4 separate regions of the Homo sapiens genome follow, and regions 1, 2 and 4 are each linked to region 3. The links are contacts of gene promoters, found by promoter capture Hi-C in human tissues and cell types (Jung and others, 2019). All regions are on one chromosome and are shown on one strand. Each heading gives the region's core, a stretch centred on a gene start or on the middle of the fragment in contact. The rest is flanking DNA. Distances are from core to core; before and after follow the strand shown. Region 1 overlaps MROH2A (maestro heat like repeat family member 2A). Region 2 has its middle 5.3 kb from the start of UGT1A8. Region 3 holds the start of UGT1A6 (UDP glucuronosyltransferase family 1 member A6). Region 4 overlaps MROH2A (maestro heat like repeat family member 2A).

Region 1 (2,930 bases), core at 138-2,637, 120 kb after region 3:
CATACTTAAATTCCGTATTTTAAATCCTTTTAAATTGACTGAGATTTATTTTGTTGCCCAGATACCATCTATCTTGGTAAATATTTCATGTGTATTTGAAAAATATTCTGCTGTTGTTAAGTGTAGTGTTTCAAAATGTCTATTAGGCCAAGTTGGTTAATAGTATTTTTCAGGTTTTCTGTCTCCTTTTTGATGTTCTGTCTTTTTGTTCTATCAATTATTGAGAAAAAGGCACTGAAATCTCTGACTAATAGTGTGAACTTGTTTATTTCTCCTTTTGGCTCTTTCATTTTTTGCTTCATGTATTATTTAGCTATGTTATTAGGTGCATAAACATTTAGGATTGTTATGTCTGGTTGATGAACTGACCCTTATTGTGATGACATGACCCTGTTTATCTATGGTAATGTCATTTGCTCTAAAATGAACTTTTATATCAGAACGGCCTCTGGGGCCATCTGGAGTGCAGGGTGGGCTGTGCTCCTGGCCCTTCATTACAGGCAGACATTTGGAGCCAGGCCAAATGCAACAGCCAAGCACCATCCTGGTGAGAATGCTGGGGATGCTCTTTCCCTGCCTACAGCCTCATCTCCCTTCATGATGGGGCCTGTCTAGAACCACAAGGAAGCATTGAAAGTCGATCTGAGTAGGAGGGTGAGGTGGGCAAAAGCTGGCCAGGAAAGGGCTGGCCCCAGGATTTTAACACCCACTTTGGTGTTCTGGGCTCTACCCATAGCTCCTGGAAAAGTGGATCTTGTCGGAGAAAGAATGGGAGCGGGAAAAGGCCGTGAGCCTCCATCTCTATCTCATGTGGATTTATGTCCACAGCACTGCTGTCTGTGTGAGTCCAGGAGTCCCCAGCCCCCAGCCTGCTGCTCTGACATGCACAGAAAAATTCCTGTGTCTATCTGGAAGATGAGGGAACACTTATGAAATCAAGTTCTGTCCCCAGAGGGCCCCTTGGGAGAGGCTGCAGTGACCTAGTGCCCTGGGCTGGGTCAGGGAGGGAGAGGGTGGGATTGTGGTTGGCAGAGCTCCAGGCTTTGTGGGGCCTGTGGCTTCTGTAGCGGTGAGAGCCCTTTTTAAGAAAAAAGATACATAGTTATGAACCCCACATTGGCTAGGAAAATGAATATTTACTTTGAGAAAATCAAGTGCTGCAAAATCATAAATTTTGCAAAGCTTGACAAGTACCGCAACCCTTAAAATGTCTAGAACGACGTAGTGTTTTTACTGATTGACCATCTGACACAGCCTGATGAGACTTAATTGTCTACACTTTTTGGCTCCATGCTGTTTGACTGTCTTGTCCTCAGGATGGCTGTGGCAGGAGGATGATGGAGTCAGGGTCTGGGGCGCAGGGATGGGCGTCTGGTGCAGGGAGAGAAGTGGGCTGGGCAGGAGGACCCTGGTCCTGGGCACCTGGATGGAGGTGGGGATGAAGGCTCAGCAAAATGAGGCAGGGGCCAAGTCCAACACTCAGTAACATGTGAGGCCAGAGGCTGTGTGGAAGGCTTCACCTGGGCTCTCATGACATTCCCTGCAAGAGGAGGTGCCATCATCATCTCCACTGTGCAGACAGGAAACATGAGACTGAGAGGCAGAGTACCCTGCCTGGACTGCTCAGCTAGTGAGCAGGAAGCTCTGATTTGATCCCCAGGGTTCGTTACAGGAACAACTGGGCCCAAGTTCAGAGCTGTGAACTGAGCAGAGCTGAGTCAGAGGGAGTCCTGATCCAGGGCCCACAGATCCAGGCTGCTCAGCCTCCAGGGGCCCAGCTGTGGGCAGGGGAGGCTGATGCTTGGACAGGGGACAGACAGTGGCACCCTCCCCTTCCCCAAATGGGTGTTTCAGAGCAGGGTTTGCCCTATCAAGTTGTCCTTTACACTGCCCCTGGGCAGCCCCAGGTGTGCATGAGAGCACAGAGGTGTGAGCCCCACGGTCTCCTGTCCCTCAGATCCACCTAAAGCTGGGGCAGTTTGGCACAATGGTCGGACTCATTGCCCCGTGCACCTGTGATGCCCATCAAAGAACCCGCATGGCCTCAATGAATGTCCTGTCCAGCCTGCTAGATCTTCACGGTATGAGAGGGCAGGACATGAGGACCAGCTCCTCTGGGAGGGAGAGAGGGCTGACTCCAGGAGTATGGGCTGCGGCCTGCCCTGGAGGGAAGGATGGCCTCTGTGCAGGCAGGCATGGAGACAAACACAGGTGACCATCAGAGGGAGCAGTGAGGGGAGAGTTCACCAACAGGCCATGGAAGCTTCCAGAAGGAGAGGTTCATTAGCCCAGATTGACCCATGGAGGGCATGTGCTGGGCACTGAGGGCCTGGCTGGGAGAAAGTCAGCTCCCAGATGCCAAGCATGTGACAGAGCTGGCCAGAGCTGAGTTCAAGGGAGAGCAGGCCTCTGAGCTGGGCGGAGAGGTGGTGCGGGCAGAGGCCGCCACAGGGAAGGACCAGTGAGAGCAAAGGTCAGAACGCCTGGGACGTTCACATGCTGGAGGGTGGCTCAGGCCTGCAAAGCCAGGGCAGGAGGTAGCCACGAAGGGGGGGTGGCTGGGCCTTTTGTCCCTGCTGGTCATTTCTGAAGTTGTATTCCCGACAGCAAGCCAGACCTGCTCCTTGTGGGGCCCTTCCAAGCAGAAGGAGCTTGAGAAATGTAAGGGGGACCTCCAGAGCACAGATGTGGAGAAGATCTTCTGTGCATCCTCCAGAATCGCCAAGGTGACAGCCGGGGAGCCTGCCTGGGCTGCCAGGCTGGTCTCAGGGCCCTTGGCCGTCTCTCAGGGAGGGAGGCCTTCCTGGGCTGGCCTCACAGCCCAAGTTTTCTGGGGTCTCAGCTTCCACGGCCTTTGGCCCAACTGCTGCCCTCTGTGTTGAAAGGGCCTGCAGTATGTCATGTCCCTACTTTGTCTCTGGCACGCAGTA
Region 2 (2,957 bases), core at 49-2,548, 81 kb before region 3:
TTGGTACTGTGATAATGCTGGTCCCATAAAATGTATTAGGAAATCCCCTAGGCTTCAGTTTTTGGGACTAGTTTGTGAATAATTGGTATTATTTGTTCCTTCAATGTTTGCTGGATTCATTAGTGATGTCATCTGAGCTTCACTTTGTTTCGTGTGGGAAGGTTTGAATTACAAATACAAATTCAATTCGACAGATACAGGTTAGTTCTATTGGGGTTATGTATTTATTCTTGTGAATAGTCTAGCAGTTTGTCTCTTTAACAAAATGTGCCCATTTCATCTAAGTTGTAGATTTTTTGGGCATAAATTTGTTCATGATATTCTCTTAGCATTTTAATATCTGTAGAATCTATGGTGATACCACCTCTCTCATTCCTGATATTGATAATTTATTTCTTCTCTCTTTTTTTTTTCAGATCAAGGTGGCTAGAGCTTTACCAAATTAATTGATCTCAACAAACCAGCTTTGGTTTCATTAATTTTCTCAACAAACCAGCTTTGGTTTAATTAATTTTGCCATTTTTTAAACGCATTTTCCATTTCATTGATTTCTATTCTGAAGTAAGCCTCCAGGGAAGGTAGATCACTGACCGTCATGTTTATTTTTCAAGGACAGTCATCTGCAAGTGCCCCAGTCACCAAAAGAAAAGATGACTAAGCAAATGTCTAGTACCAGTTAGGGTGTCCTGAAAGGAGCCATCTTGTACTCCTACAAGGATTATACCCCGAGGTTGTTTGTGGAATCTCTCACTAAATGTTCTTTAAGGTGTTGCCTGACACACACTGCTTAGCTCGTCCATGAAGGTATCAAGAAAACCTGCAGAATATAATTCTGTCCAGTGCAACAAATATTACGGTTGATTTTCTTTGTGCAAGGCTGTATTTGTCTGTTTGGATTGCTGTAAAGGATACCTGAGGCTGGGTAATTTATAAAGAAAAAAGGTTTAATTGGCTCACAGTTTTGCAGCCTTTATACGAAACACAGTGCTAGCATCTGCTTCTGGTGAGGCCTCAGGAAGCTTACAATCATGACAGAAGGTGATGGGGAGCTGGTGTGTCACATGGCAAGAGCAGGAGCAAGAGAGAGACAGGAGAGATGGCACATACTTTCTTTTTAATTTTAATTTTTATTTCTGGGGTACATGTGGAAGATGTTCAGGTTTGTTACATAGGTAAACATATGCCCTGGTGCCACATGCATTTTTTTTTTCCTGCTCTTACACTTTTCTTTCTTTTTAAATGCTTTAAGTTCTGGGATATATGTGCAGAACATTGTTACACAGGTATACACGTGCCATGGTGGTTTGCTACACCCATCAACCTGACATCTACATTAGGTGTTTCTCCTAAGCTATCCCTCCCCTAGACCCCCCCACCCCCCGACAGGCCCTGGTGTGCGATGTTCCCCTCCCTGTGTCCATGCGTTCTCATTGTTCAACTCCAACTTATGTGTGAGAGCATGCGGTGTTTGGTTTTGTGTTCCTGTGTTAGTTTGCTGAGAATTATGGTTTCCAGCTTCATCCATGTTTCTGCAAAGGACATGAACTCATCCTTTTTTATGGCTGCATAGTATTCCATGTTGTATATGTGCCACATTTTCTTTATCCAGTCTATCATTGATGGGCATTTGAGTTGGTTCCACATCCTTGCTGTTGCGAATAGTGTTGCAATAAACACACGTGTGCATGCGTCTTTATAGTAGAATAATTTATAAGCCCTTTGGTATATACCCAGTAATGGGATTGCTGTGTCAAATGATATTTCTGGTTCTAGATCCTTGAGGAATCGCCACACTGTGTTCCACAATGGTTGAACTAATTTACACTCCTACCAACAGTGTAAAAGTGTTCCTATTTCTCCACATCCTCTCCAGCATCTGTTCTTTCCTGAGTTTTAATGATCGCCATTCTAACTGGCATGAGATGGTATCTCATTGTGGATTTGATTTGCATTTCTCTAATGACCAGTGATGATGAGCTGTTTTTGATATGTTTGCTGGTCATATAAATGTCTTCTTTTGTGAAGTGTCTGTTCATATCCTTTGCGCACTTTTTGATGGGGTTGTTTTTTTCTTGTAAATTGGTTTAAGTTCCTTTTAGATTCTGGATATTAGCCCTTTGTCAGATGGATAGGTTGCAAAACTTTTCTCCAATTCTTTAAGTTGCCTGTTCCATCTGATGATAGTTTCTTTTGCTGTGCAGAAGCTCTTTGGTTTAATTAGATCCCATTTGTCAATTTTGGCTTTTGGTTGCCATTGCTTTTGGTGTTTTAGTTATGAAGTCTTTGCCCATGCCTATGTCCTGAATGGTTATTGCCTAGGTTTTCTTCTAGGGTTTTCATGGTTTTAGGTCTTATGTTTAAGGCTTTAATCCATCTTGAGTTAATTTTTGTATAAGGTGTAAGGAAGGGGTCCAGATTCAGTTTTCTACAAATGGCTAGCCAGTTTTCCCAACACCATTTATTAAATAGGGAATCGTTTCCCCATTTCTTGTTTTTGTCAGGTTTGTCAAAGGTCAGATGGTTGTAGATGTGTGGCATAATTTCTGAGGCCTCTGTTCTGTTCCATTGGTCTATATATCTGTTTGGGTACAAGTACCATGCTGTTTTGGTTACTGTAGTCTTGTAGTATAGTTTGAAGTCAAGTAGCGTGATGCCTCCAGCTTTGTTCTTTTTGCTTAGGATTGTCTTGGCTATACTGGCTCTTTTTTAGTTCCATATGAACTTTAAAGTAGTTTTTTTCCAATTCTGTGAAGAAATTCAATGGTAGCTTGATGGGGATAGCATTGAATGTATAAATTACCTTGGACAGTATGACCATTTTCACGATATTGATTCTTCCTATCCATGAGCGTGGAATGTTTTTCCATTTGTTTGTGTCCTCCCTTATTTACTTGAGCAGTGGTTTGTAGTTTTCCTTGAAGAGGTCCTTCCCATCCCTTGTAAGTTGTATTCCTAGG
Region 3 (3,139 bases), core at 76-2,575:
CCTCTCACTGGGACAGCCTAGTTTCTACACAGGTCTTGCTCTGGGACCGCCCTCAGCAGTGTGGTTAGCAGGCAGGGCCAGTGTGACCCTCCCTTTCTGGGCCTCAGTTGAGAAACCTGAAGCTCAGGAGAGGAGTCACTCCCCTGGCAGATGGGTGGCTGGGCCAGAAGCAGATACCAGGCTTTCTGACTCCTGCTCTAGGATTCTCACCACGTACTGGCTAGACTTATACTTCTCAAATCTTAATTTCCTAAAGGCAAGTAACAGTTTGAATGTTGTTATATTGTGATGTATAATAAGAAATATATGTTTGTCTTTGTTTCCTGGACACAGCTCCTGAAACCATAAGTGGTGGGAGCGATAAACGTGAACAAAGAATCTTTTGTTATTCAAAACAGATCCCTTTCGATCACACCTAAGTTTATGTAAAGGAGATGTAAAGTCTCTAAGGATGAGGGCTAGTTGCCAGGGAACAAAACCCTTGCGATTAGAGGGAAGAAAGGAGAGAGAGATTGAAGATTGATTTGATCACCGATGGGCAACAATCTAATCAATCATGCCTACTATGTATGGAAGCCTACATAAAAACTCAGAAGGGCAGGGTTCAGAGAGCTTTCAGGTTGCTGAAGGTGTGGAGGGTGGGGCACCCAGAGATGGCAGATGGGGCTCCATGGCCATACCCCCATATCTTGTTCTTTGTACTTTTTCCTCTGGCTATTCATCCGTATTGTTTGCAATATCCTTTGTAATAAACCAAACCTAGTAAATAAACTGTTTTCTTCAGTTCTGTGAGCCATTCTAGCAAATGATTGACTCCAAGAAAGAGGGTGTGTGAACCTCTGATTTTTGCCAAGTCAGACAGAAGTTGTGGGTAACCTGGGGACCTACTACTTGCAATTGGTGTCTGAAGTGAGGGCAGTCTTGTAGGACTGAGCCCTTAACCTGTGGGGTCCGTGCTAACTCAGAATTCAGTTCAGAATGGAATTGAATTGTAGGATACCCAGCTGGTGTTAGAGAATAGGTCCGTGTGCAAGAAAAATTCCCGCACATCATGGACATAACAGACAACGTCAATGATGAGGAATCCAGCAAGTTCGGGATAGAGAATTGGCAGGGGGTCCTCAGGGGTCTCTCCAAGTCATCTTCAAAGTGTTGCTATAACTTTTCAGAGAGGGAGAAGCAGACTTGTGGAGCTGAAGAGAAACACCCAGAAGCTCAGGTGAAAGCTGACACGGCCATAGTTGGTTCATATTAACCATGTGATTAAAATGGTTAAATATTAATTTGGGTTCTTACATATCAAAGGGTAAAATTCAGAGCAAGGGAGAGGTAGACAGGACCTGTGAAAAGCAGTGGTTAGTTTAGGGAAAATACCTAGGAGCCCTGTGATTTGGAGAGTGAAAACTCTTTATTACCGTTGTTACTTTAACTCTTTCCAGGATGGCCTGCCTCCTTCGCTCATTTCAGAGAATTTCTGCAGGGGTTTTCTTCTTAGCACTTTGGGGCATGGTTGTAGGTGACAAGCTGCTGGTGGTCCCTCAGGACGGAAGCCACTGGCTTAGTATGAAGGATATAGTTGAGGTTCTCAGTGACCGGGGTCATGAGATTGTAGTGGTGGTGCCTGAAGTTAATTTGCTTTTGAAAGAATCCAAATACTACACAAGAAAAATCTATCCAGTGCCGTATGACCAAGAAGAGCTGAAGAACCGTTACCAATCATTTGGAAACAATCACTTTGCTGAGCGATCATTCCTAACTGCTCCTCAGACAGAGTACAGGAATAACATGATTGTTATTGGCCTGTACTTCATCAACTGCCAGAGCCTCCTGCAGGACAGGGACACCCTGAACTTCTTTAAGGAGAGCAAGTTTGATGCTCTTTTCACAGACCCAGCCTTACCCTGTGGGGTGATCCTGGCTGAGTATTTGGGCCTACCATCTGTGTACCTCTTCAGGGGTTTTCCGTGTTCCCTGGAGCATACATTCAGCAGAAGCCCAGACCCTGTGTCCTACATTCCCAGGTGCTACACAAAGTTTTCAGACCACATGACTTTTTCCCAACGAGTGGCCAACTTCCTTGTTAATTTGTTGGAGCCCTATCTATTTTATTGTCTGTTTTCAAAGTATGAAGAACTCGCATCAGCTGTCCTCAAGAGAGATGTGGATATAATCACCTTATATCAGAAGGTCTCTGTTTGGCTGTTAAGATATGACTTTGTGCTTGAATATCCTAGGCCGGTCATGCCCAACATGGTCTTCATTGGAGGTATCAACTGTAAGAAGAGGAAAGACTTGTCTCAGGTTGGTGGGTTTATTTCTTTTGGACTGCCTTGTTTCTTCCAGGCTCTGTCCTCCCTCACTCATTTGGCTCCTTGAGCCGACTGTCCCTTGGAGGATTTCCTGGAGAAACGGTGGGGGGAAGTGATACCCGGCTCGGAGCAGCGGGAACACATAGGAGACCTGAGGCTGAAGTGATACAGAGGCATTCGGATGAAGACAGGGCTCATGCTTGGCAAGAGTAGGAGATTTGCTTAGTTGGATAATCTGGGACAGTCACATACTCATTGAATGAGCCTTAGAAATGTCCCAGTTCAAACAGAGGTGAAGGCTTGACTAAGGGAACAGGTCCAGGTTAAAATCCATTTTCCCAACTCTGTCCCATGCTTTGTCTCTGGACCTTGAGCCAGGGACCAGCGAACTACAGCCTGTGAGCCCAATCTGCCCAAAGGCCTGTTTTTTGTTTTTTTTTTTCCTTTTATGTTGAGACCTGTTTTTATATGGCCCAGAGCTAAGAATGGTTTTTGTAGTTTTAAAACAATTTAACAATGAAGAATATGTGCCACAGAAGTATTTGGTCTGCAAAGCCTACACATTTACTGACTGGCCTTTTCAGCAAAAGGGGTATGGCCTCTGACCTAAGACAAGTGTTTACAGATGCCCTCCTGACATGTAGGAAAAGGGCCCAGAGTTACTTTGGAAAATAAAAATCTGTGAGTTTTAAATTTCAATGTAAATATTTACAACTTTGAAGGGCTTCAGGCAACTCCCTCTATCTTTTATGCCTCAATTTTCTTTTCCAGTTCCTTTTTTATCAGAGAGAAAGCCTCAAACAGGTCCCAAAGACCCTTACCTCTCTTCT
Region 4 (2,735 bases), core at 88-2,587, 110 kb after region 3:
CTGAGGGGAGAATGCCACTCAGCGTACCTGTGTTCAAACCTGCGTATCCATTCATGACAGGAGTTCATAGACACAGTGAACCTGCAGGTGACAATGTGTGGGGTCCTAGATATATGCACAGCTCTGAGCATTCTGTAGACTCAGTATCTGGGCATGGAGCCCCTGGGGAGTGAGGAGACCACACCTGAGACCACGACAAACCTCTGCTAGGCCACAGGTGGGAATCCCTTGGTTCTTTCTTCCAGACAAATCGCCGGGAGAAGTTTTATCAGAGGGACTTGGAGGAGAGGATGGTCCACAAAGTCACCATGGACACTGTGAAGATCATTACCTCTTCTGTCAGTGGGATGACCACCGTGAGTGGGCCCTGCCCCACCCGCACAGTGGGTCACCACGCCAGGCTGGGGGTGAACCACACATGCCCAGAATTCCACATCTTTGCTTCTTCCGTTCCTGCTGTCTGGAGTGTTGAGGGGCCTTCCTCTTCCAGTTGCCTGGAATTACTCAAAACCCAGTTCCAAAGCCAGGTCCTTGATGAGAACTTACTCTTCATCTCTGTACCCCTAGAGGCTGGGCAGTGCACGACCTCAGCATGGCTGGCAGTATCAGTCTGTATCATTTGAGCAAGTACCTGAAATGTGTCCATTACTTTAAGGCCCGTGTGTGTGTGTATGTGTGTGTGTGTGTGTGTGTGTGTGTCTGTGTGTAGACCAATGATTTTCATGGTTTAATTTTGTAAACATTCATTGAGTTCTAACTCTGTGAAAGACAGGACAGAGGAGTGTGCACTAGGAGGACTCAGTATGACGGGAAGGAGTGGAAGGAGTTCACAGACTATGGGAGAAACAAATGTGTCAACTTTTAATTGCAACAAAATGTGACGTAGCAATAAGAGGAAAAATGTACCATGAGAACATCAAGGAGGGAATGATTACTCACTGAGGCTGCAGGCTAGATGATCCCTGTCCAGCGACAGCTTTTTTTAATTGCAGAAATAATAATAATCATCATCATCATCATAGCTACAGTCCATGTGGCACCCACATATAGCAGGTATACTGTACTAGGTGTGCAACCTGTGCAATCTTGTTTAATTATCCCAGCAACTACCTGCATAGAGGGTAGTTATTATCCTGATTTTGTAGATGAAGAAACAGACCCAGAGGGATTCATTAATTTGCTCAAGGCCTCATATCTGGTAAACAATAGATCCAGGATTGAAATTCCCTTGGAATTCACCATGCTGTCTTTATGGGGAAGCCCAGGAACTGGGAGATTCTAGTCCTGGTGGCTACAACAGGTTAAGCCATTGCACTTGATGGTTGGTAGCACAAGAGCCTCACCTTCAACTCCTAGGGGTGGGGGTGGGGTGGAGAGGGATTATAATTAGTCGGGGGTGTTGAACGGTCACCCAGGGAGAGAGGAGATGGTGGGGTGAAGTTGGAAACACAGCTCCAAGAATCCATATCAGTCAGGGTTCTCCAGAGAAACAGAACCAGTAGAAGACATATATAGCCTGGTTTATTTTAAGGAAGTGACTCATGCAGTTGTGGGGGCTGGCAAGTCTGACACCTGTGTGGCAGGCCAGCAGGCTGGAGACTAGCAGGGGCGGATGCTGCAGCCTTGTGGCTGAATATCTTCTTCCTCAGAGAAATCCCAGCGTTTCACTCTTAAGGCGTTTCACCCACCTATGTTATTGAGGATAATCTCTTTTATGGATTATGCACTTTCGTCACACCTACAAGCTACCTTCACAACAACACCTAGATTGGTGTTTGACTGAATGACTAGGTACAGTCGCCTAGCCAAGTTGACACACAAAACTGACCGTCATACCAGGCATGCACAACTGGATCATCTGCCCGGGGTGCCCCTCTAGAGGACTTGGGATCAGAGGGAGGGCCCTGGATGAGAAGGGTTTGATGAGTGTGGGTTTGTATGAGGCTGGCAGTGATAGGAGTTGGGCAACAGGGATGCTGGCCCCAGCAGGGACTAGCAGACTCTCTTGCCACATCAGGGTGGGTGACACTTAAATGCCCCTGACAAAGACTGGATTTGGCGGTGGAGCCAGTTCAGGGCTGAGACTGTCAGGGGACATCTCTGGGGAAGCAGGGATGGGATGGCACCATGGCAGAGCCTGACTGTTCTCCTTAGAAGCCCAGGGCTTGGGCTAATTCTGAGCCCCTTTCTCTCCCACCCCTACCCCAGGAGTTTTGGGTGAGGCTGCTGTGCTACATCATGGAGACAGACTACGTGGAAGCTTTGACTCCTATCTGTATCAGCCTCACAAACCTGGCAGAACACCAGCTCCATGGCCAGGATGTGGATGTCAGCGTGGCTGGCAAGAGCAGGCAAGGTGGGCAAAGTTCCTGTCCAGCTGATTGGATTGGGCAGGTGGGCTGGCTCCTTGTCTGGGAATGCCCACCCCTCTCCACATTCCTCCCACCCTCATTCCCCCTTCTCCTGGAAACATCCAAGTCCAAATTAATACTATTAATGCCTACCTGGATATTAATGCCTACCTGATCATATCTAGGTCATGTTAGAATTGTGTAAACTTCCTTTGGATAGCTCACTCCTCATGTCCTGTCCCCCCAGCCCACAGCCCTGGTCCAGATCCCATCCTTGGGAGCTCCTGGCCCAGCCTTTCCCATGCATGACCTTACTGGGCCTCTGCTCTGCCTGGCTTCTCTGAGCCAGCTAGAGTAACTATAGGCATCCCATCCTCTGTAGAC

Evidence for each region. Contacts are between HindIII fragments. The study calls those that stand out against the background at their distance.
Region 1: a fragment that was not itself captured here is called in contact with the fragment with the promoter of UGT1A6 in region 3 in 2 of the 25 tissues and cell types used here (liver and small bowel).
Region 2: a contact is called between a fragment that was not itself captured here and the fragment with the promoter of UGT1A6 in region 3, in 6 of the 25 tissues and cell types used here (adrenal gland, liver, mesenchymal stem cells and 3 more).
Region 4: a fragment that was not itself captured here is called in contact with the fragment with the promoter of UGT1A6 in region 3 in 2 of the 25 tissues and cell types used here (H1 embryonic stem cells and neural progenitor cells).

The regions. Positions count from the first base shown.
Region 1 is chr2:233,816,045-233,818,974 of GRCh38, forward strand. It overlaps MROH2A (maestro heat like repeat family member 2A), which reads left to right. Exons shown (of 42, transcript NM_001394639.1): 27 at 737-841; 28 at 1,958-2,081; 29 at 2,608-2,726. Among named protein-coding and RNA genes, the nearest start is that of HJURP, 37 kb to the right of the region's middle. The HindIII fragment of the contact is 4,546 bases long and covers 1-2,930 here.
Region 2 is chr2:233,610,837-233,613,793 of GRCh38, forward strand. It overlaps UGT1A. Among named protein-coding and RNA genes, the nearest start is that of UGT1A8, 5.3 kb to the right of the region's middle. The HindIII fragment of the contact is 6,432 bases long and covers 1-2,957 here.
Region 3 is chr2:233,691,565-233,694,703 of GRCh38, forward strand. UGT1A6 (UDP glucuronosyltransferase family 1 member A6) reads left to right here and starts at 1,326. Exons shown (of 5, transcript NM_001072.4): 1 at 1,326-2,301. The coding sequence starts at 1,441. The region is part of intron 1 of UGT1A8 (UDP glucuronosyltransferase family 1 member A8); the gene reads left to right. All of the region lies in intron 1 of UGT1A10 (UDP glucuronosyltransferase family 1 member A10), which reads left to right. The region is part of intron 1 of UGT1A9 (UDP glucuronosyltransferase family 1 member A9); the gene reads left to right. It also overlaps UGT1A7 and UGT1A. RefSeq lists enhancers at 1-71, 72-678. The HindIII fragment of the contact is 31,227 bases long and covers 1-3,139 here.
Region 4 is chr2:233,799,960-233,802,694 of GRCh38, forward strand. MROH2A (maestro heat like repeat family member 2A) reads left to right here. Exons shown (of 42, transcript NM_001394639.1): 14 at 246-356; 15 at 2,209-2,356. Among named protein-coding and RNA genes, the nearest start is that of MROH2A, 23 kb to the left of the region's middle. The HindIII fragment of the contact is 7,942 bases long and covers 1-2,735 here.